Regions from separate parts of the Homo sapiens genome. Here all the other regions are linked to region 2. The links are contacts of gene promoters, found by promoter capture Hi-C in blood cells and fetal thymus (Javierre and others, 2016). All regions are on one chromosome and are shown on one strand. Each heading gives the region's core, a stretch centred on a gene start or on the middle of the fragment in contact. The rest is flanking DNA. Distances are from core to core; before and after follow the strand shown. Region 1 overlaps LINC02176 (long intergenic non-protein coding RNA 2176). Region 2 holds the start of USP10 (ubiquitin specific peptidase 10). Region 3 overlaps LOC124903735 (a long non-coding RNA gene).

Region 1 (3,816 bases), core at 803-3,302, 240 kb after region 2:
AAAACCCTGTATCAGGGTTTCCAGTTATCCATCCATCTATTCAAAAAAAAATTTTTTTTTTGGATACAGGGTCTTCCTCTGTGGCCCAGGCTGGAGTGCAGTAGCGCAATCTCGGCTCACTGCAACCTCCACTTCCCGGGTTCAAGCGATTCTCCTGCCTCAGCCTCCTGAGTAGCTGGGATTACAAGCTCCTGCCACCATGCCCAGCTAATTTTTGTATTTTTAGTAGACATGGGGTTTCACCATGTTGGCCAGGCTGGTCTCAAACTCCTGACCTCAAGTGATTCACCCTCCTCGGCCTCCCAAAGTGCTGGGATTAGAAGTGTTAGCCACCGCACCTGGCCTATTCAAAAAATTCTCTATGGAGCTTCCACCATATACAAGGTATGGACAAGCAGGAACTGAACACACACAGCCCTGCCCACCCGGCGCTGACAGCAGGAGAGACAGACCATGCGACTATCGAAGAAACCAGAGCCAGAAAATAGGTGAGCAGTAAAAGCAGATTTTATTGAGGAACTGTTGAAATGAGAGAAGAGACCTCGGTGTAGACCTGGGCTCTGGTCTGAATACAGCGGTGATGAGTGGGGATGTCACCTGGAGCAGAGGTTCAGTGGATGGAAAATGGCTAAGAGGAGGTCAGGCGCAGTGGTTCATGCCTGTAATGCCAGCACTTTGGGAGGCCGAGGCAGGTGGATCACTGGAGGTCAGGAGTTCAAGACCAGCCTGGCCAACATGGTGAAACCCTGTTTCTACTAAAAATACAAAAATTAGGCAGGCTTGGTGGGACACACCTGTAATCCCAGCTACTTGGGAGGTTGAGGCAGGAGAATCGCTTGAACCTGGGAGGCGGAGGTTGCAGTGAGCTGAGATCGCGCCACTGTGCTCCAGCCAAGGTGATAGCGCGAGACTCCGTCTCAAAAAAAGAAAATGACTAAGAGGAAGCATTAGGTGTGGGGGGAAGTTCTGGCTAAACCGATGGAACAGGACTCTCGCCGAAGGCAGGCCAGGTGAACAGACACCCCCGAGGGGCAGTGCCAGGCGAGGAACTGCTCACGCGTCGGGGGTCGGGGAGTTTTCCTAATTGACTCTGGGTTCTTGCTAAAACTGGAAAAAGCCAAGACAAGTGCAGAAGCCCCCAGGCCAAGGCCTCCTGGAGAAGAGGGTTTGGAGGAGCCTGACCAAAGCTTGATCGAGGAGAGGGTCTTTGTCATGATTACTGGGGGCTCTGACCCCGTTTAGGAAGACGGGGACTGTGCCCATGAGATCTGAAGGGGGAAGGGCGTTCTTGAGGCAAGAAGGCTGGGGTGGAATTCCAGACAAAGGCAACAGCACAGGGGCAGGGTGAGTCCAGGTCTGGAGAGATGGCCTGCGGCGAGGCCCCATGCATCCCAGGGAAGGTTCCGGAACACCCTGCACACGCACAGTCTCCACCATCCTCTCTAGGCCTGGCCTCGCATCAGACAGGGCCCTTGTGAGAGCTGCCTCAAATGTGACATTTCCACCAGAGCCCCGGCCCCCGTGCCCGCCTTGCCAGCCTCGGCCTGTGGGGGCTGCCACTCTCCACAGGTCCTCGTCCCTGTCGGCCGAGGGCAGCATTCCCGCAGCGGGGAACGATCAGCAGAGATTGGGAAATAGGGTAACTTGTTCCAGATGTCCGGAGCAAATCCAGGCCTGGCTTCTCTAAGGGACTGTTTGGCTTTCTGAAGTTTACAAACAGCAGGATGAGAGGCCCCTCCTGAGAGGCGGCCAGGACCCCCCGTGTGTGATCATGTGCGTGAGGGGGGCTCAGGGCTGCGGAATGCCATCCAGTGTCACCTGAAGTCCACACACACAGCCTGGGGCCCACGTCCACGCTTCCCCACCCAGGGATGCCGGCCTTGGGAAACCCCCTGTAGGACCAGCTGCCCCCGGCCTCTGGAGGCGTTTGGCAGGTGGGAGGTGTCTGCAAGAGACTGGAGAGGGCTGGAGGAGCTGAGTCGCATCCACTCCCCCAATTCCCTCTCTGCAGGGCCGCATGGGCCAGCTGCGTCCCGTGTCCCCAACCTTACCCTCGGGCCTCAGTGCTGGGCGCTCCTGCCGTTGCCGGCCCTGGTGCTGCCCGTGCGCCGCCTGCGGTGTCCCGGAGCCCACGCATCCCTGCACCTTTGAGCACAGTCCTTTTCCTGAGCGCTCCCTAAATTATCCCAACTCAAGTGTGACTTCGGGGCCTGCTCTTCCCAACCCCCTTCCCCAGTAAGTGGCTTTTGCCTGTGCCTTGATGAACACCTGAAGCGAGACCCAGAGACGCTCAACTCCCCGACAGCCCTGGTTCCAAACCGGAGCTGCAGCAGTTGCTGAGCGCGGCTCCTTCACGCCTTCCTGCCGTGAGCGTTCCTCACCGCCGAGGCTTCCTCCTCCTGCTCCCAAACCGTGTCCACTTTTAGGAGGGGACTTTCTAGAACGTGCTTCCGAACGGTACCTATGTGATGAGGGGCTGAGCATGAAATAAAGACAAGGGCATGAGTGTAGAGGCCAGGCAGACCTGACTCGCCCCTCACTCCCCAGGACCCGGACCTCTCTGGATCTGCATCCTCCCCCTAGTAAAATGGGAGACACACCGCTATCCAGACAACTGGGATTCCTGGACCAGACTTTTCTTTTGAGGTGAGCACACCCGCCCCGCAACCCAGATGGACTAGGGTGACCTTCTCCCCACCCCACTCGCACCTCAACAGGCACATTTCCCCATCTGCCCTTGGGCTGAGTGACACAGTGGCTGGGCCAGGGATGGTTTGACACCGCAGGACATGTCAGCGTATTTTTCCAACATACTCTCCGCCTGACTCATTCAGTGGGAGACACTCACATGAGCTCCCCGCCCGAGAGGCCCTCTGGCACCGCAGACCCAACACATAAACAGGTCCTCTCTCCTTCCAGAAGCTTCTGGAGCCCATTGTGCTTTAGATTCATCCACCCTTCCTCCAGACGCTGGGCATCTCTCTCCTCTCCTCTCCTGCTGACCCCACCATTCGGATGGCGCCTGTCACCCTAACTGTCTGCACACCCCAGGTTCCTCCCCACCCCACCCCTCTGCCCTCCTTTTTGTCTGATTTGCCAACTGGTCCTCCTGGTTCTGCCTTGTCCACTGTGGTGTTTTGTTTTTAGGGTTTTAAAACTAATTTATTTAGGTGAAATCATATAACATAAAAATAACCATTTTAAAGTGATCAATTAATTGGCATTTGGTACTTTTTTTTTTTTTTTTTTTGCAGCCTCAACCTCTTAGGCTCAAGCAATCCTCCCACCTCGGCCTCCTAAGTAGCTGGGATTATAGACACATGCCACCACGCTTGGCTGACATTTTGTAGAGACAGGGTTTTGCCATGCGTCCCTGGCTGGTCTTGAACTCTTGGGTTCAAGACATCTGCCCGCCTTGGCCTCCCAAAGCACCAGGATTACAGGCATGAGCTACTGCCCCCAGCAGCATTCAGTACATTTACAGTTTTGTACAACCAGCACCCCTATCTAGCTCCAAAACACTTCCCTCATCCCACAGTGAAACCCCAAACCCATTAAGCAGTTTCTCCTAATTTCTGTCTCCCCCAGCTCCTGGCAGCCTCCAGTCAGCTTTCTGTCTCTATGGACTGGCCTGTCCTAGACATTCCTTATCAATGGAGTCACACAGTATGTGGTCATTTCGTCTGGCTTCTTTCACTTAGCACCATGGCATCAGGGTTCATCCACATTGTATAACCTGGATCGGTGTTTCATCCCTTTTTTTTTTTTTTTTTTTTTAATTTATTTTGAGATGGAGTCTCACTCTGATGCCCAGGC
Region 2 (4,035 bases), core at 502-3,001:
TGTGTACATGATTTTATCTTTTGTTGAACCATTAAACAATAGTTTACAGGCATTATGGCCTTCACTCCTCAACTCTTCAGAATGCATCTCCTCACAATAAGGACATTCTCTCAGTGAGCACAGTATAATTATTACACTATAAAATTACCAATAATTCACGAAGATCACCCATATCCAATCCATATTCAAATGTCTCCAATTGTCAACAAATAGTAAAACCAGCTTAAAAGACATATCAGGATCCAAGCAAGATGACACATTGTATTTGGTTATGTTTTCTAGCTCTTCTATTTTGGAACAACCCCTCCCTACCACTTATATTTTTCTTTTCTTTTCTTTCTTTCTTTCTTTCTTTTTTTTTTTTTGAGACAGAGACTCGCTCTGTCACCCAGGCTGGAGTGCAGTGGCACGATCTCGGCTCACCGCAACCTCCGTCTCCGGGGTTCAAGTGATCCTCCCACCTCAGCCTCCTGAGTAGCTGGGACGCCTGGTGTGCCACACTACATCCCACCAATTTTTGTATTTTTAGTAGAGTTGGGGTTTCATCATATTAGCCAGGCTGGTCTCCAACTCCTGACTTCAAGTGATCCGCCCGCCTCGGCCTCCCAATGTGTGGGATTCCGGGTGTGAGCCGCTGCGCCTGGCCCACTTATATTTTTCATGGCATCCCATTTATGAAGAGACCAGGCTCCCTATTTTATGTAACGTGGGAATGGATCTTCCTGTTCATCTCCTCTGCTCAGTGTACGGTCTAGCAAGAGCAGACTCTCTGTAGGTGTTTGTTGAATAAATGAAACCAATAGTAATGGTTATTAATAACAATCCCAGTAGCCAATTTTTATTGACTATTCTCTTGGCCAGTGTGCTCACGTTAATCTAATTTGAACCTCACAGAAATCTTACGCGTTATGACATATTTGTCTTATTCACAGGTGAGGAAACCAAGGCTTAGGGAAGGAAAGTCGCTTGTCTGAAATCACAGCTAGAAAAGGGGCCAAAACCCAAGGGTGGACCCACTGGCTGGAAAACAGTGCAGTTAGGCAGGGGCCCCTGTTTCTTAATAATGAATGAACCAACGACCCCCAAGGCTGGTTTGCCCGTGCACACGCACGCACGTGTGCAACACGTAGCACTTGCTGAGTGTTTGCTACTTGCCAGGCCTCATGTCAAGCACTTTACGCGTGCTTTTATGCCCTACGTTTTGTTTTTGTCTGTTTTGCTTTTTTCCCCTAATGCCTAGCCAAAGGCGTGGCCCAGGCGCCCAGGCAGGACTTGGGGAGTGAATGAAGAGTGAACAAATGAATGAATGCGCGGCAACGGGATCTTCATAAACCAGACCCTCCTCGGGGATCTAATGCGAACACTCCCGAGGCCCGGGCCCAGGTACGCTGAGGGCGGCTCGTGGGCCCCAGGCCGACCTCAGCCCGCGACTCCCGGGCTCCGGGGGCCCAGGTGGCCCCCAGTAGGTGAGGAGCCGGGCCCGCCGGCGCCTTGGCGTTGCCACCTCTACCTGCCTGCCCTCTCCCCTTCCGGATCCACAGCCAGGCCTCGGCGGGCTCCTGGTGTGCAGCCGCCCGGCCGCTTCCGCCCGAGGGTCGCGGGGCTCAGAGTCCGGCAGGCTCCAGGCGGGGCAGGGGATGTCCGCGGCCCGGCAGGCGCACGCCCACCTGTCGGCCGCGCAGGCGCAGCAGCGGGCCGGCCTCCCCGCGCCCCGCGGCGCGCGGCCAGTGCGCAGGCGCGGCGGCCGATGCGAGTGTGTATGTGCGGGCGAGAAGATGGCGGCGGCGGGGGAAGCAGCGTGAGCAGCCGGAGGATCGCGGAGTCCCAATGAAACGGGCAGCCATGGCCCTCCACAGCCCGCAGGTAGCCGCCGGTCTGCGCCTTCGGCCGGAAGGGGCCCGAGCCCCGGGCGGGCGGACGCCGCGGCGGGCGGGCGTCCGCGCCCTGCCCGGAGCGAGCGTGTGGGAGTGGGGGAGGGCGCTGGGACACGCTGCCCGGGCCTAGGCCGGAGCCACCCGCCGCCTCCGCGCCCGCCGCGCCTTCGTCCCCTGAGCCACCCGGACCCCCTAGTCCCGGGGAGGTCGAAGGGCGGGGGCTCCGGGCCCCGCTTGGGGAGGGCGTGGAGGGCGCCGAAGGGGTTAACCTCCCTGGGGCTGGACCGCGGGGCGAGCCCGGGGTGTGGAGTGGGGCCCTCCCCGCCGCGCCGGCCGGGGGAGGCGGCCCGGGGGCTCCGGGAGTCCCCTGGAGCGCAGGGGCCCCAGAGCAGCTCAGGTTGCTGCCTCTGCCTGGAGCGAGCCTCAGAGATTTGGGGGTGCCCTGTTGCCCCTTTGCCCCAAGAGCTTCCTTTCTCAGCTTGATTGATGATGCGGGGGTTGCCGATTTTCTGTTTTTTAGATAGAAGTAGCAGAGTAGCGGCCTTGGGCTGCTGTTGCAAAGAAAACTCGAAATAAGTCGCAAGGACCGTACTTTCACTTGCGTTTGAGTGACATCCCTTGCACGAATCCATCCCAGCCAGGCTGACAACTAACGCACCCTGCCTGAACAGTAGCTAAAGCTTGGGGGCCCTTTACAATAATCCCGTGGTGGAAAGAAAGAGCTCTTTTTGGGAGATGTGCGTGTAGAGTTAAGCTCTTATTCCCCTCTCCCACCCCTTCTCTCACATCTTCTCCCCCCTCCGCCATTATAATTATTCTGGACAAAAATCGGCATGATGTATTATTTGTCAGCCTTGCTTTAGACTGCTAATTTGTTGACATCTGGTCCCTATAAATTGTTGCACACTTTTAAACCATCTCATTGTGTATTTGTATTAAATATGGGGAAATGAAACAAAGTAGCCATTCGGGAAACTGATTGCGAGTAAAATCATAACCCTTCATGAGCAATTGGGTTTTGTTGCCCTTCTGCAGATGAAGTCAATCTGACTACACCTCTTTTGAAACATGATTTTCGGAACTATTGTAATGAATGCGTGTTGTGGAATCTAAAATGCGAAAACTTTTTAAAAAATTAGATCTTACGACAAGCTTCAATTTTGTTAAATTAGCTGTAGTTTAGTTTGCATCAGAATTTCCCCCTTTAACGTTTTGTTCCCTTATTCATTTACTTTTGTAAGTAGTGTAGGTCTTTGCGCCAAAAAAGGGATCAGTAGTTGAATAATTTTTACAAATGTATAGCCCAAAGATTTTAAGAGATTTGGTGTATTTAGCTTTGTTTAGACCTTTCTGTTAAAAAAAAAGATTTGATATTTGCTTTTTTCTCAACTTAAATCCTAATTAACTAGCTTATTAGAATTGGTATGAACAAGTAAAAGGCTCATTATGAATTAATGTGTAATATTCCTTGTGATTTTGACATGAAGAAAGCATCTTTAGGCATAGCTCACTTCCTTTATTTAATAAGCATCAATCACAATTCAAGGTTGATTGAAATGTTAATTAATGGGGATGGATAATATGTAAACTTAATTGTAATTTCGTTTGCATTCATTGTCCCAGTATTTACGTTTTATACAACAGTCTAAAGCGTTATACACATCTTTAGAAAATTGGAGTAGCAAAAGTTGGCGGAACGTAAATGTTAGCAACACTTTGGGTTTATTCTTTTAAAGTATGATTTAAATGCTTTTAAGTTTTAGCATGGAGAAAGTAGCAAAGGAAATAGTTTGATTTCTCATAATTTTCTTCTTCTTTTTTTTTTTTTTTTTGAGTTGGAATTTGGCTCTTGTTGCCCAGGCTGGAGTGCTGTGGTTATTAACCTATAAACTTTTTTATTTATTTTGAGATGGAGTTTCGCTCTTTTTTTTTTTTTTTTTTTTTTTTTTTTGAGACGGGAGTCTTGCTCTGTCGCCCAGGCTGGAGTGCAGTGGCATGATCTCGGCCCACTGCAACCTCTGCCTCCCGGGTTCAAGCGATTCTCCTGCCTCAGCCTCCCAAGTAGCTGGGATTACAGGCGCCCACCACCATGCCTGGCTAATTTTTTGTATTTTTATTAAAGACGGGTTTCACCATGTTGATCAGGCTGGTCTCAAACTCC
Region 3 (4,334 bases), core at 1,717-4,216, 180 kb before region 2:
CTAAAAATACAAAAATTAGCCAAGAGTGGTGGTGGGCATCTGTGGTCCCAGCTACTCTGGAGGCTGAGGCAGGAGAATCGCTTGAGCCCAAGAGGTTGAGGTTGCAGTGAGCCGAGACTGCACCACTGCACTCTAGCCTGGGCAACAGAGTAAGACTCCATCTCAAAAAAATAAACTACTATTTAGAAATAATTATAGATTCAACAGAAAGTTGCAAAGACAGTGCACAGAGGTCCAATATACCCTGCACCAAGTTTCCCTGTGGTTCTAACTCACCTAATCCAAACTGGGAAAGAGACATTGATGCAATCAATGTGTGTGTCCAATTCTGTCATTTCCCCACGAGGGTAGTAGAGTCGTGTGACCATCACTACAAAACACAACTATTCCATCTATGCTGAAGATACAGAAGTGTTCCATCACCACGATGATCTCTTCCATGTTGCCCCAAAATAATTGTGAAATAGAAATTCCATGTAGAAATAGTATTTTGGCTATATTAGGTTCAAAGCATATTAATGTTACCATTTCTCGTTTTAAAACATGAACAATGAAAACCTTAGAATCGCACACAGGGCTTGTGTTCTACCTCCATTGTCTGTATTTGGATGTTGGACAGCACCGGCTCCGAAGTTCAGACCACAGCTCGGTTGCTTTGGATGGGTTAATTAACCTCCCTGAGCTAGGCTCCGTGGGAGTAGACCAGACCTGTAAGAGTCACTGTTCGGCACACTTGAGTGCCTATGTGCTGGGCATCACGTAAAGGCAGGGGACACAGGAGGCAGCGAGAGAGACCATGTCCTCCAGAGGGAGAGGAGATGCCCTGTAAAGGCTCACACACGGGCTAGTAGTGAGAAGGGTCAGTCCACAAGCACCGCCAGGTAGAGTTGGGACCCAGAAGGGGTTAAATAAAAACAGCAAGGGAGAGGACTTAAGAACATGGCACAGACTCCCCCACACACAGTAAGGAAAAGAAACGCATGCACTGTCAGCAAATAAACAGCAGAAACAAAGAATTTTTTTTTTTTTTTTTTTTGAGATGGAGTCTTACTCTGTCGCCCAGGCTGGAGTGCAATGGCGCGATCTCGGCTCACTGCAACCTCCACCTCCCAGGTTCAAGCAATTCTCCTGCCTCAGCCTCCCAAGTAGCTGGGATGACCAGGGTCCACCACCGCACCCACCTAATTTTTGTATTTTTAGTAGAGATGGGGTTTCATCATGTTGGCCAGGCTGGTCTCGAACTCCTGACCTCAGGTGATCTGCCCACCTCGGCCTCCCAAAGTGCTGGGATTACAGGCATGAGCCACGGCACCCAGCCAGAATGTTGCTTAGAAACCCAAATTGTCCCTGTTGCCCCAGAGCAGGTAAACCATACTGGGGGACCCCAGAATCCCAGCTCTTCCCGGGTGCCTCCCAGTACCCAGAAGGCAACAGGAAGAAGCGACTGCGGTTGAAAATAATAAAAATACTGCTACATGCAGGCCCTGTTCCCCTAGAGAACTCGACCGCCAGCTGGGAACTGATACCAGGCCCCACGAGACCCATCCCCCAGGGCCCGTCCCAGAGATACTCAGCCCCAGGCGCTGGAAAGCTTTTCCAAAGAGATTATGAAAAACGTCTAATATGCGGAAAACCAGACTAAAAAAACAAGCCCTCTTTATACCCACCACCCAGACTCAGCCATTGCTAACATTCTGCCCTTTCCTACTGTTCGTTGGAATGTTCGAAGTGGGTCAATTCTGACATTTAAGCTTTCAACATATTTGACGCATTTTTTAAAAAATGATGCCGTTGTACTAACCACAGAACTGTCAATGCATCTAACAACATTAACAATCATTTTGTCATAGAACCTGAGCGTCAATTGCTGGACTCTGGTTGGTAATGCAGAGTCTCCCGGCTTTACCCCAGACCTCCTGAATCAGAATCCGCACCTTCACAAGGTCTGAGTACTTCATGTACTCATGATGGTTGGAGGAACAAACTATTTTTTTGGAGACAGGGTCTCGCTGTCATTGAGGCTGGAGTGCAGTGGTGCAATCATAGCTCACTGCAGCCTCCACTTCCTGGGCTCAAGTGATCCTCCCGCGTCAGCCTCTCGAGTAGCTGGGACTACAGGCACATGCCACTACACCTGGCTGATTTTTATTTTATTTTCCAGGGTCTTGCCAAGTTGCCCAGGCTGGTCTGGAACTCCTGGACTCAAGTGATCCACCCACCTCAGCCTCCCAAAGTGCTGGGATTATAGGTGTGAGCTGCTCCGCCCAGCCCAGAAGCAAACCTTATATTCAGTCTCATTGGATTAAATTCTATCCCTCCACAAAATTCATGTGTTAAAGTCTTTCTCCCAGTGCCCCAGGATATGACTATGTGACTTATTTGAAAATAGAGTCATTGCAGATGGAATTAGTTAAGATGAGGTCACAGCAGGGTACTGGGCCTATGATCTAGTGTGACTGGTATTTTTTTTTTTTTTTTTTGAGGTGGAGTCTCACTCTGTTGCCCAGGCTGGAGTGCAGTGGTGAGATCTCGGTTCACTGCAGCCTCTGCCTCCCAGATTCAAGCGATTCTCCTGCCTTAGCCTCCTGAGTAGCTGGGATTACAGGCATACACCACCACGCCTGGCTAATTTTTTTTTTTTTTTTTTTGTATATTTTTAATAGAGCTGGGGTTTTGCCATGTTGGCCAGGCTGGTCTTGAACTCCTGACCTCAGGTGATCCACCCGCCCTGGCCTCCTAAAGTGCTAGGATTATAGGCAGGAGCCACCATGCATGGCCTTTTTTTCTTTTTCATTGGACAGAGACAGCCATGCACGGAGGGAAGGTATTGTGAAGAGTCACACAGGAAGACAGCGTCCACAGGCCTCGAGATGCACCAGCCCTGCTGACACCTTGACTTTGGGTTTGTGGCATCCAGAGCTGTGAGGAAGTCGATTTCTGGTGATTTTAACCCCCTGCCCGCAGTTTGTGGTACAGCAGACCTAGGAAATGAATCCACAGTCCCTATCCAAAGTTCACCTGTGGTTTTCTTAAAAATACCCATGGCGGAGCCCACACTAACGATTCCGATGTCCCAGGTCTGGGCGGGGCTCAGGTGTGGGTGCTTTTAAAACTGAGACTACACTGCAGGCAAGGCCAGCGTGGAGTCACGAAGCTGCTCTCCTGGTTAACCAGGAAACAGCAGCCAGGTGGTGTAGGGCGCCTGAGGACAGTCACTGAAGTGTACCTGAGAAGGTGGGGATGACCCTGGATGGCAGATGCACGCGGATGCATGTTCCGAGCTAGGGAATCTGGGTTGGCCAACCCCGAGATCCGTTCCTTGTCTATGAGACACATCTGAGCCTCAGTTCCCTCTCCCCCACCCCAACCCCAGCCTGGCCCGTGGAACACGAGCTGTACAGGAGGTTGAGGCCCTGAGTTTTTGGTTAAATGCAGGTTGCCAGGTGGAGGCCGTTAGGGGGAGGGGGTTAAATGAAAATGCTGGGTAAACTGCACGATGTTTGCAGACGGCCGTGGCTCTCCTGTGCAGCCCGCTCTCCCCTGTCCGTACGCCGCAGTAAAACCTGTGTCTCGTTCACTGTCTCTGAGTCTCTTCGTTGGCCTCTTGAACCTGGTGCCTTCCCTATTGAGGTTAATAGGGGTTTCGGCACAAAGGATGGACCCTCATCTGCCGCCTGCTGTTTTGCGGGGAAAGGGTAGTAAGTTATTTGGAGAGAGAAATACCCAACACCAGGGCTGGAACCCCGGCAGCTCTGGTCCTCAGTGTGGGTTTTGACTCACAGCAGCCCCTTAGGAACTTGTTAAACTACAAAAATCCTCAAGCCGCACACACAGCTCTTGGGTCAGAGATTCCTGGAGTGGGCTGCTGACTGCATTTTGAGGAGCCGTCCTGGGGGCTCCGATGCAGGCTTGAGAGTGAGAACCCGGACGAGAAGACGTGCAGGCCCCACGCTGTGTGCACTCAGGCAGCCCCCGGACCAACCCACAGGGGTTTCAGTGTGATCAGCTCTGTCTACAACAAGGTGTAAAGAAACAAAATCCCACAACCACAGCCCCTGACCTGGGAGTTTCCTTCATCATCCGCAAACACAGTAACATTTTCAAAAAGTCCTAAAGACTTAAGAAAAAGGCAACTTCCTCTCCACCTCCTCCAGACCTGCTCCCTGGAGGCAACCGCCACGAGAAGCTTCCCGTGGATTTTCCCAAAGTTCTAGAGGTGCATATTCACCTCCACCTACAGCCTTTAAACATGGACACACGGGAAGCAGACGACTGTCTTACTCCTTGACTTTTTTCTCGTTTAACAATATATTAGGAGCTCACGCCAATCTACG

The links. The method cuts DNA at HindIII sites, captures the fragments that hold promoters and counts their contacts. A CHiCAGO score of 5 or more calls a contact.
Region 1: a fragment that was not itself captured here is called in contact with the fragment with the promoter of USP10 in region 2 in 1 of 17 cell types (neutrophils); the score reaches 5.4 in neutrophils.
Region 3: a contact is called between a fragment that was not itself captured here and the fragment with the promoter of USP10 in region 2, in 11 of 17 cell types (naive B cells, total B cells, non-activated CD4 T cells and 8 more). The highest score is 9.5, in naive B cells.

What each region holds. Positions count from the first base shown.
Region 1 is chr16:84,939,312-84,943,127 of GRCh38, forward strand. LINC02176 (long intergenic non-protein coding RNA 2176) reads left to right here. Exons shown (of 4, transcript XR_933830.2): 3 at 2,548-2,646; 4 at 3,589-3,746. Among named protein-coding and RNA genes, the nearest start is that of LINC02176, 13 kb to the left of the region's middle. The HindIII fragment of the contact is 1,735 bases long and covers 1,186-2,920 here.
Region 2 is chr16:84,698,249-84,702,283 of GRCh38, forward strand. It overlaps USP10 (ubiquitin specific peptidase 10), which reads left to right and starts at 1,752. Exons shown (of 14, transcript NM_005153.3): 1 at 1,752-1,863. The coding sequence starts at 1,843. RefSeq lists silencers at 1,224-1,743, 1,834-2,053, 2,064-2,173, 2,214-2,323. The HindIII fragment of the contact is 5,859 bases long and covers 1-2,552 here.
Region 3 is chr16:84,516,006-84,520,339 of GRCh38, forward strand. LOC124903735 (a long non-coding RNA gene) reads left to right here. Exons shown (of 2, transcript XR_007065148.1): 2 at 2,162-2,325. Among named protein-coding and RNA genes, the nearest start is that of MEAK7, 14 kb to the left of the region's middle. RefSeq lists a silencer at 3,935-4,014. The HindIII fragment of the contact is 2,435 bases long and covers 1,750-4,184 here.